2 separate regions of the Homo sapiens genome follow, and region 2 is linked to region 1. The links are contacts of gene promoters, found by promoter capture Hi-C in human tissues and cell types (Jung and others, 2019). All regions are on one chromosome and are shown on one strand. The core of a region is centred on a gene start or on the middle of the fragment in contact, and the rest is flanking DNA. Distances in the headings are between cores, read along the strand shown.

Evidence for each region. Contacts are between HindIII fragments. The study calls those that stand out against the background at their distance.
Region 2: a contact is called between a fragment that was not itself captured here and the fragment with the promoter of CBS in region 1, in 9 of the 25 tissues and cell types used here (H1 embryonic stem cells, IMR-90 fibroblasts, aorta and 6 more).

What each region holds. Positions count from the first base shown.
Region 1 is chr21:43,074,333-43,078,975 of GRCh38, forward strand. It overlaps CBS (cystathionine beta-synthase), which reads right to left and starts at 1,503. Exons shown (of 17, transcript NM_000071.3): 1 at 1,438-1,503. The HindIII fragment of the contact is 35,360 bases long and covers 1-4,643 here.
Region 2 is chr21:42,921,928-42,926,909 of GRCh38, forward strand. It overlaps ERVH48-1 (endogenous retrovirus group 48 member 1, envelope), which reads right to left and starts at 3,703. Exons shown (of 2, transcript NM_001308491.2): 1 at 3,419-3,703. RefSeq lists enhancers at 3,838-4,359, 4,360-4,881. The HindIII fragment of the contact is 3,226 bases long and covers 1,488-4,713 here.

The DNA of each region.
Region 1 (4,643 bases), core at 253-2,752:
TCACCAGACTGGGGGCCAAAGCGGCTTCAAACGACCCTGGAGGGTGGTGCTTTCAAGGTCTTGGGACCACGGACTTGTCTGAAAATCCGAAGGCGTTGGATCTTCTCTTCCCCAGAAAAATGCACCCGCTTTCAGAGGTTCGTGTCCCACGCTTTTCTTTCTATCCCAACCTTGTAAGAAGCCGCCGCCGTGAGCGGAGCAGCACCTTCCTCCGCGGGTCGCGGGAGTCACCTACGGGAAGGGACTCTCCGTCTGGCACAGGCCCTGTCTGGCCTGGGGCGCGCATGCTCCGCCGCCGAATCTTCCAGAAAGCCGTGGACCCGAGGCCCCGGCAGACGCAGGCGGCCCAGCGCCTTGCTTTTGGCCCCTCGCCTCGCCCTGGAGCCCTCTCTCGCAAGGTAAGGGACTGCCGGGAACGCAGATCGCAAGCCGTCGGGGCTCTGTAGAACTCAGAGGCGCTCGGCGGAAAGCTCGCCAGGCGACCCAGACCCGAACCCGCGGGCTCCCCAAGACAACAGCGCCGGGCGGCCGGATGCACGTGCGTCCCGGGAAGGCGGGTTCAGCTGGCATCGCCTGGCCGGTTCCGTTCGCTCCTTAAACCACAAGACCCCCTTGGGGTCACGACGTTCCCGGGGCACCCCTGCACTCGCGCGCCAGCACTCCCGGAGGGGCCTGGGGAAGGCCACGCGCACGGAGAGCGGGAAACTCCTCTAGGTTTCCAGGTGGGAGATCCAGACCCTACTGAGACCCGGAAACCGCCGGCCACTCCGCCTCCGGAAGCGACACTTTGGGACAAAGCTGGGGACAAGTAAGCCCAGAAGATCCTCGGGAAGCCGAGAATTTCGCGCTCCGCTCTCCCACCCACGCTCCGCCTCCCGCTTGCATCCTACAGCTCAGCTGCGGTCTCGCCTGGGGCTCAGGGAAGTGAGGTCCCAGGAAAACCTCCATCCCCCGAACGCAACCTGGGCAGAGCCCCGCGTCCCTCCCCCAGCGGGCACCCACCTCGCGTGCCGCCCGCGCAACGACAGCGTTTACCGCCACCCCACACGGTCCGCCAAAAAGGGCGATTTGCAAACAGCCATTTCCCATCCACAATGCAGCGAACTCAATGCTGGGCACCGAAACGTGCATCTCCCCCGGATTCCCACCCCGCGTCCCTGCTCCACGCTCCAGGACTCGCCGCCAGTGGGGTCCACTCCGCCGGCGCGGGGGCTGGGGTGGGAGCCCGGGGCCACGTGCACGGCCAGCCCCCATCTTCTGGGCGGTCAAGACCGCAGGCGTGGGCGCCGGTGGGGCGGGGGTCTTGGGAGACCCTGTCTCGCCGCCTTTCGGTGCAGATGATGCAACTCTGGGCGGAGGCGCGGAGAGGGAAACCGGGACCCAGTTGAGATCCTCTGTCCAGAGAGGGGAGCGAGTCTCGGTGGGGCCGGATCTCACCTGGACGGATACATGGAAAAGAGGGGCGAGCGGCTGCCCCGACTGCGGCGAGGCGGAGACGGCGACCCCGGGGTGGCGGCCTCGCGGGGACCCACGGCGAGGGGAGCAGGCGGGCGGTGATTGGCGGAGAGGCGGGGGCGGAGGCCGGCGCCGGCCAATGTCTCGTGGCAGAGCACCCGCCCCCCCAGCCCCTCCTCCACCCCACCCAGCCCGGGCCCCTCCCCCCCACCCCTTCCCCACCCCGCCGCAGCCTGGGACCCTCCGGCCTGCCCGACCCCCGCCCTCCCCGGGACCCCGGCATGCCCCCACCCCAGTCCGCCCGCCCCATTCCCACGCCCTGTTGATTCAACCGCAGACCCGGGTCGCCGCCCCCTCCCCCGCCTTCCTCTTCGCCTGAGCCCGCCCGCCCCGGGTTCCAGCCACCCCCACCCGCGGACCCCGGTGGTGTCTTCTACCTGGTGTTCCGATGCTGTTTTACTTGGTTAACTTCTTGCCCTTCGGGAATTTAAGGAACCTTTACTGATGAGCTTGAAACGTGCGTCCTGGTGGGTGGGGGGCCCTGCGCGTCCTCGAGGACCGACCCCGAGGGCGTGTGTCGCGGGCCCGGGAGGGGGCGCCGCGCCGGGGCGGGACTCGATGGCCGCGCTCTGTGGCCGCCGGACGCCGTGCGCAGCGCCCCGCGTGACCGCGCCCAGAGCCGGGTCCGAACCCCGAGCCGAGGCGCAGAACAGTCGCCTTGCGCGGCTCCGGTGCGGCCCACGGCCAGGGGCTGCCGGGCGCTCTCGGGGACGGGGCCGACTCCGCGCAGGGTGGTAGCAGGGGCGCCCCGCGGGGCTCCTTCGCCAGGTCCCGGAGGCCGCGGGCGGGGCCGTTTCCCAAACATCGTGCTCTGGACTTTCAGAGGCTGAACCTGATCCCCCCGCCCTATGGCTAAATGGGGGATCCCAGGCCCCCGAGTCTCCCCCCGGACCTGCAGCGAAAGACACGGACGGTGCCCATCAGCTCTGGGCAGAGGAACGTGCTGCGCCTCCGCAGCGTCCCCGGCTCAGGTCAGAGCGATGCTCCGCAGCCTCCTCCGGCCCGCGCAGCTCCGCCGCGGTCTCTGCCACGTGGGGCTCACAGTAGGGGAGGGAGTGAGACGTGAATTAGAATTAAATGTCCACTGGCAGGAACTGACACGAAGAACAATAAAGCCGGCGATGTGGGGAGGGGACAGGGATGGAGTTACATCATGAAGGCTCTGGAAGGTGGCATTGGAGGCCGGGATCGCGCCACTGTCCTCCAGCCTGTGCGACTGAGCGAGACTGTCTCCAGAAAAAAAAAAAAAAAAAAAAAAAAAAAAAAAAATCCTGTCCAGTCTTTATAAGAAGAGAGACGTGGACACAGACACGCGGAGAGAAAAAGGCCATGTGGAGATGGCGGCAGAGATGAGATGTGCTGCCACCAGACGAGAAATGGCAGGGATGGCTGGCGGCCTCCACAGGGCTGGGAAAGGTGGCCAGGGCCTCCCTCAGAGCCTTCAGCCAGCCTGCGGGAGAGAAAGATGATAAACGGTGTTGTTTTTGTTGTTGTTGTTTGAGACAGAGTCTGTGTCACACAGGCTGGAGTGCAATGGTGAGATCTTGGCTCACTGCAGCCTCAGCCTCCCGGGTTCAAGCGATTCTCCTGCCTCAGCCACCCGAGTAGCTGGGATTACAGGCACGCACCACCATGCCAGGCTAATTTTTGTATTTTTAGTAGAGACGGGGTTTCATCATGTTGACCAAGCTGGTCTCGAACCCCTAACATCAGGTGATCCATCCGCCTCGGCCTCCCAAAAGTGCTAGGCTCACAGGAGTGAGCCACCGCGCCCAGCCCAATGTGTGTTGTTTTAAACCACTCAAGTTTGCAGTAATTTGTTACACAGCCCAAATACTTTTTAATTTTTTAGAAATTTTAACGTAATTTTAGATTAGAAAAGTGGCAAGAACCATACAGAATGTCATATTCCCTCATCCAGATTTTCCAAATATTAATTTTTTTTGCTTCTATTATCAGAAACTCATTGTTATTTCAAATGTTAAGTTTTTACTACATTTGCTCCCTCTCTGTCTCTCCACACACACACACACACACACACACACACACACACGTGTGCAGGTGTGTATGAATCTGTCACTCAGTCTATCTGGTTTCTCTAACTTGTTATTTTGTTTTGTTTTGTTTCTTTTTGAGACAGAATCTTTCTCTGTCACCCACGCTGGAGTGCAGTGGTGTGATTTCAGCTCACTGCAACCTCCCCCCCACGCTGGAGTGCAGTGGTGTGATTTCGGCTCACTGCAACCTCCCTCTCCCGGGTTCAAGCGATTCTTCTGCCTCAGCCTCCCAAGTAGCTGGGATTACGGGTGCCTGCCACCACACCTGGCTATTTTTTGTATTTTTTTTTAAGTAGAGACGGGGTTTCACCATGTTGGACAGGCTGGTCTCGAACTCGTGGCCTCAGGTGATCCACCTGCCTCGGCCTCCCAAAGTGCTGGGATTACAGGGGTAAGCCACTGCAGCCAGCCCACTCTCTAGTTTTAACACTTACTGATGATTTTGTCTGAATTGATTTTTATTAAAATGGTTGCTGAGCTGTGGCTCACACCTGTAATCCCAGCACTTTGGGAGGCTGAGGCGGGCGCATCACGAGGTCAAGAGATTGAGACCATCCTGGCCAACATGGTGAAACCTCGCCTCTACTAAAAATACAAAAATTAGCTGGGCATGGTGGTGCGTGCCTGTAATCCCAGCTACTCGGGAGACTGAGGCAGGAGAATCACTTGAACCAAGGACTCGGAGGTTGCAGTGAGCTGAGATTGTGTCATTGCACTCCAGCCTGGCGACAGAGCAAGACTCCGTCTCAAAAAAAAAAAAAAGTAAATAAATAAGTAAAATAAAATAAAATAAAATGGTTGCTGAATAGTGGTTTTTCTAAGCCCATCACTCCTCCATGTACCATTTGGCATTCCATTATTAGAGTTTTCCTTCTCCCTCATTTATTTATTCACTTAGTTATATCAATGTGAGCCGTAGGTCCTATTTTAAAATGAAAAAGCTACACCTGACCACTGAAAGTGCACGAATGGCCAAGTGGGGTGGCTCACACCTGTAATCCCAGCACTTTGGGAGGCCAAGGTGGGAGGATCACCTGAGGTCCGGAGTTTGAGATCAGCCTGGTCAACATA
Region 2 (4,982 bases), core at 1,851-4,350, 150 kb before region 1:
GGAAAGTAAAGTGTATGGGTTAGGGACTACTGGACATACTGGGAGTACAGTTTGGTTAATGAGCCTGAAGTCCTGGACTAAGTGGTAAGTTCCATCTGGCTTTTTAACAGGTAGAATTGGTGTGTTTAAAAGGGAGTTTGTTGGGCGGAGGAGGTGACTGGCGAGGAGGCGAGAAATGATAAGCTATAGGCCTACAAGAGCTGCTTAGGGGATTGGATACTGCTTCTGTGATAGGAACTGGGTGGGGATTTTAAGGGTAATGCAGAAGGGGGTGTGGTGTTTTGCAACTGAGGGTGTGGAAGTATCTCAAAACAGCGGGGTTAACCATGGATGGGGGATAAGGAAAGGTTGCATGTTTTAGGGTGGGAGGTTGCAGGAGTAGAAGAAAGTTAGAAGCCCTGGAGGGGTCTGGGTGGATGCGTTGGGTACTAGGGGAACGTGGGAGTGGAGAGTGGTGTGGAGTTTTGAAAGCATGGCTCTGCCTAGGAGTGGAGTTGGGCATGAGGGCAGGACTAAGAGTGAGTGAAGGAAGGCCGGGCGCGGTGGCTCAAGCCTGTAATCCCAGCACTTTGGGAGGCCGAGGTGGGTGGATCATGAGGTCAGGAGATCGAGACCATCCTGGATAACACGGTGAAACCCCGTCTCTACTAAAAATACAAAAATTTAGCTCGGCATAGTGGCGGGCGCCTGTAGTCCCAGCTACTCGGGAGGCTGAGGCAGGAGAATGGCGTGAACCCGGGAGGCGGAGCTTGCAGTGAGCGGAGATTGCGCCACTGCACTCCAGCCTGGGAGACAGAGCCAGACTCCGTCTCAAAAAAAAAAAAAAAAAAAAAAAAAAGTGAGTGAAGGAAAAGGCATGAAGGGAGCAGAAGGGTGGAGGGGGGCTCGGGATTTGGAGACCATCAGTTGTCCATCAATTCCCACAACAGAGACCTGGGAGGACTCGGTGAGTCCTGAAAAATTAGGTAAAGCAGAGTAGGTTGACTTGATATTAATTTTAAAAACATACTGGCCTACCTGCCATTATCAGGGTTACCCTTGGCTCAGATGAGGCAATGGTAGTTGCCGGGGTGTCCGTTCCAGGGCACTGTCAGTCTTCAGCGGCAAGGCCGATGAGATCGAGTAGGTTTTGGCCGGCTCAGGAAGGGATGGAGGCGGTCCTTGCAGGGGCCGCTCACAGTCCGACTTCCAGTGGGGTCCTCTGCAGAGGGGGCACGGCCTGGGGGGCTTACCTGGGTTTGGGCATTGCCTGGACCGGTGGCCTTCATTGCCACACTTGAAACAGACGCCAGGTGCAGGTGGCTTGCTAGGAGGCTCCCGTGTGGAGCTGCGGCCCCGTGGGCCTGCAGGGCCTCCCGATGGCGGAGGCAAGCATTCGAAACTCTGCCTGTTTTTGCCTTTCACTTTCTTCATCACAATTATTAAAGGCTTTGAGGGCTAAATTGAGAAGGTCTCGTTGTGGGGTTTGAGGGCCATCGTCAAGCTTCTGAAGCTTGAGCTGGATATCAGGGATGGGTTGGGAGATGAACCGAAGGCTTAAGATAGTGGTTCCTTCTGGGCTGGCTGGGTCTAGGTTGGTATATTTTCTCATGGCTTCCATTAAACAAGAGAGGAAAAAGGGCTGGGTTTTCGTCAGGACCTTGGGTGATTTCTAAAAGTTTTTCATAGTTTACCGCTTTATGGGCACACTTTTTGAGTCCTGCAAGGAGACACACAATCATGTGGTCTCGATGGCAGCATCCAAAGGCCCCATCTTGATAATCCCAGTGGGGGTCCTGGCTGGGGACTGCCTCTGTGCCAGCAGGCTGGGCGGCAGCTTGGTGATGAATTGTATCAGCATGTGCCTGAGCTAGGGTCCAGATACGGTCCCAGTCTTCTGGGGTGAGCGTGGAAGAGAGGATAACGTAGAGGTCATGCCAAGTTAGTTCATAAGACTGGGTGAGGTACTGAAACTCTCTAATATAAGAGGCAGGGTATTCTGGAAATAAACCGAGTCTTTTGTGAATTCAAGAGCGATCAGTGAGGGAGAAGGGAACATGAACTCTAATAAGATCTTCAGTTCCTGCTACTTCCCGAAGGGGGCATTCTAGCACAGACGCTGAAGTAAGGGTGGGGCATGGGCCAAAAGCAATGCCTGAATGAGTATAGGCGGGAAAGAAAGAAAAGCCGGAAGTGGTTCCTGCTGAGGGTTTGAAGGGGGAAGGAGGGTTGAGTTAATAGGCAGCAGAGGATAGATAGGAGCGGAAGGTGGCGGGGTGGGTTTACAGGCCTCAGGAGAGAGCGGTGGGGGAGGAGAATGGGTACAGGCAGTGCAAGAATTGTCCTGAGGAGAGGATGGTGTAGGAAAAGAAGTGGATACTCTTGGAGGCAGTGCTGGCTGGGAAGACAAAGAGGAGGCTTAGGGGGTTAAAGAAGACGGTTGAGAGGAAGAGGCAGGGGCTGGAAGGGGTGGACAGCAGTTGGCTGGATCCAACAAGGAAAAAGAGTTAGGGTCGGGAGGAGAACGGCGATCAGGGCGGCGAGAATGGAGGGGGAGGATTTGAACAGGTGAGCAAGAGCAGAGGCCAGGTTGTAATCTGAGTGTGAACAAGGCCTGGATATAAGGAATTTCTCCCCATTTTTCCAGCCGTCAGCAATAATTGCTTAAGTCAGTTAAAATTGTAAAGTCGTATGTTCCATTTGTGGCCCATTTGGACCCACTGTCCAATTTGTACTGTGGCCAGACTGAATTGCAAAAAAAGAACAAGGTGCTTAGAGGGATATCTCGCCTGAGGTCTAAGGTTTGCAGGTTTTTCATGAGGCAGCCTAGAGGGCTGTCCTTTGGAATGGAAGACTGGGAATTTTCCATAATGGAGGGTAGGCTCAGGAGAACGGGAAAAGCAGACCGTCCTGGACAGCCGGAGGGAGACGATAAAAGGAGCGTTTGTCACCGCTGCCTTTTTCATTCCCAGAATGGGATCAACTGGCTTAGAGTCCCCCTAAGACCAGATGATCAGCGAGTGCCTGGCACACACCTTAGCATTTTTTTTTTTTTTTGAGACAGAGTCTTGCTCTGTTACCCAGGCTAGAGTGCAGTGGCGCGATCTCTGCTCACTGCAACCTCCACCTCCCGGGTTCAAGCGATCCTCCTGCCTCAGCCTCCCGAGTAGCTGGGATTACAGGGGCCTGCCACTGTGCCCAGCTAATTTTTGTATTTTTAGTAGAGACGGAGTTTCACCATGTTGACCAGGCTGGTCTCGAACTCCTGATCTCGTGAATCCAACGGCCTTGGCCTCCCAAAGTGCTGGGATTACGGGCGTGAACCACCACGCCCGGCCATGCCATAGCCTTCTTGGACCCATGTTGGATTTTGGGGCTGGAGAAACCAAGAGAGGCCGTGCGGATTTTTCCCTGTTAACCGGGCTCCCAGGAAACTTACCAGTAGGCGAGATCAGTGACCGATGTGCATGCACAGAGAGGCGACTAGAGGCTGAGGAGCTTCCTTTGTCCGGCTGCTGTGGCCTGCTTTCCCAGATGGAGGGGTGGTAGGTCCACTGGGGACGTGGACGGAAGCCCCTCGCAGGTTTCAGGGCCAGCCCCAAGGCTCTTGCATTGGTTGGAACCCGGAGAGCGCGCCAACAGACAACACGAGGCGGTGTGGAGCAACACACTGTTTTAATAAGCACCTGGATGCAGACAGACTGAGGCCTAGAATGGCATCAGCCCCAAGTGAGGAGGGGGCAGGGCTTTTATAGTTCTCTGTAAACAGGAATTGTCCCAGCCTGACGTGACTGCTATGTAGTACGCGGACGGCCTCCCCCTTGATCTTCAGAGAGTATGTGTCTTCCAGCCAGCTCTTTTCCTGCCTCTGCTATCTTGCTGCTGGTGCAAGTTTGAGCGTTGGGACTGGGCCTGAGGAGGAGGAGTTACTCATTCCCTCAAGCTTTCAGGCCCCTGGGAGAATCTTTCAATCAGGACTTCCTGAGGCGGTGTCACAGGTCCCTGCCCAACCTTGGCAAAATAAACTTTCTAAATTAACAAGAGACCTGTCTCAGCCGGGCACGGTGGCTCACACCTGTAATCCCAGCACTTTGGGAGGCCCAGGCGGGCAGATCACGAGGTCAGGAGATCGAGACCGTCCTGGCTAACACGGTGAAACCCCGTCTCTACTAAAAATACAAAAAATTAGCCGGGCATGGTTGCAGGCGCCTGTAGTCCCAGCTACTTGGGAGGCTGAGCCAGGAGAATGGCCTGAACCCGGGAGGCAGAGCTTGCAGTGAGCGGAGATCGCGCCACCGCACTCCAGCCTGGACGACAGAGCGAGCCTCCATCTCAAAAAAAAAAACCTGTCTCAGATTTTCCACATCCGCACCCAAAATGGCATCAAACTCCTGGCCTCAAGTAACCCATCTGCCTCGGCCTCCCAAAGCGCTGGGATTACAGGCGTGAGCCATTGTGCCTGGCCTCAAGTGGGATTTTTTTTTTTAATTCTGAGACAGAGTCTAACTCTATTGCCCAGGCTGGACTGCAGTGGTGCCATCTTGGCTCAGTGCAACCTCCATCTCCCGGGTTCAAGCGATTGTCCTGCCTCAGCCTCCTGAGTACCTGGGATTACATGTGCACGCCATCACGCCCAGCTAATTTTTTTTTTTTTTTTTTTTTTTTTTTTTTTGGTAGAGATGGGGTTTAGCCATGTTGGCCAGGCTGGTCTCAAACTCCTGACCTCAAATGACCTCAAATGACCTCAAATGATCTGGCCTGCCTTGGCCTCCCAAAGAGCTGAAATTATAGGCATGAGCCATCCGCACCTGCCCACAAGTGGGTTTTTTGTTTTTTGTTTCTTGGTTTTTTTTTTTTTTTTTTTTTTTGAGACGGAGTCTCGCTCTGTCGCCCAGGCTGGAGTGCAGTGGCGCGATCTCGGCTCACTGCAAGCTCCGCCTCCCGGGTTCCCGCCATTCTCCTGCCTCAGCCTCCCGAGTAGCTGGGACTACAGGCACCCGCCA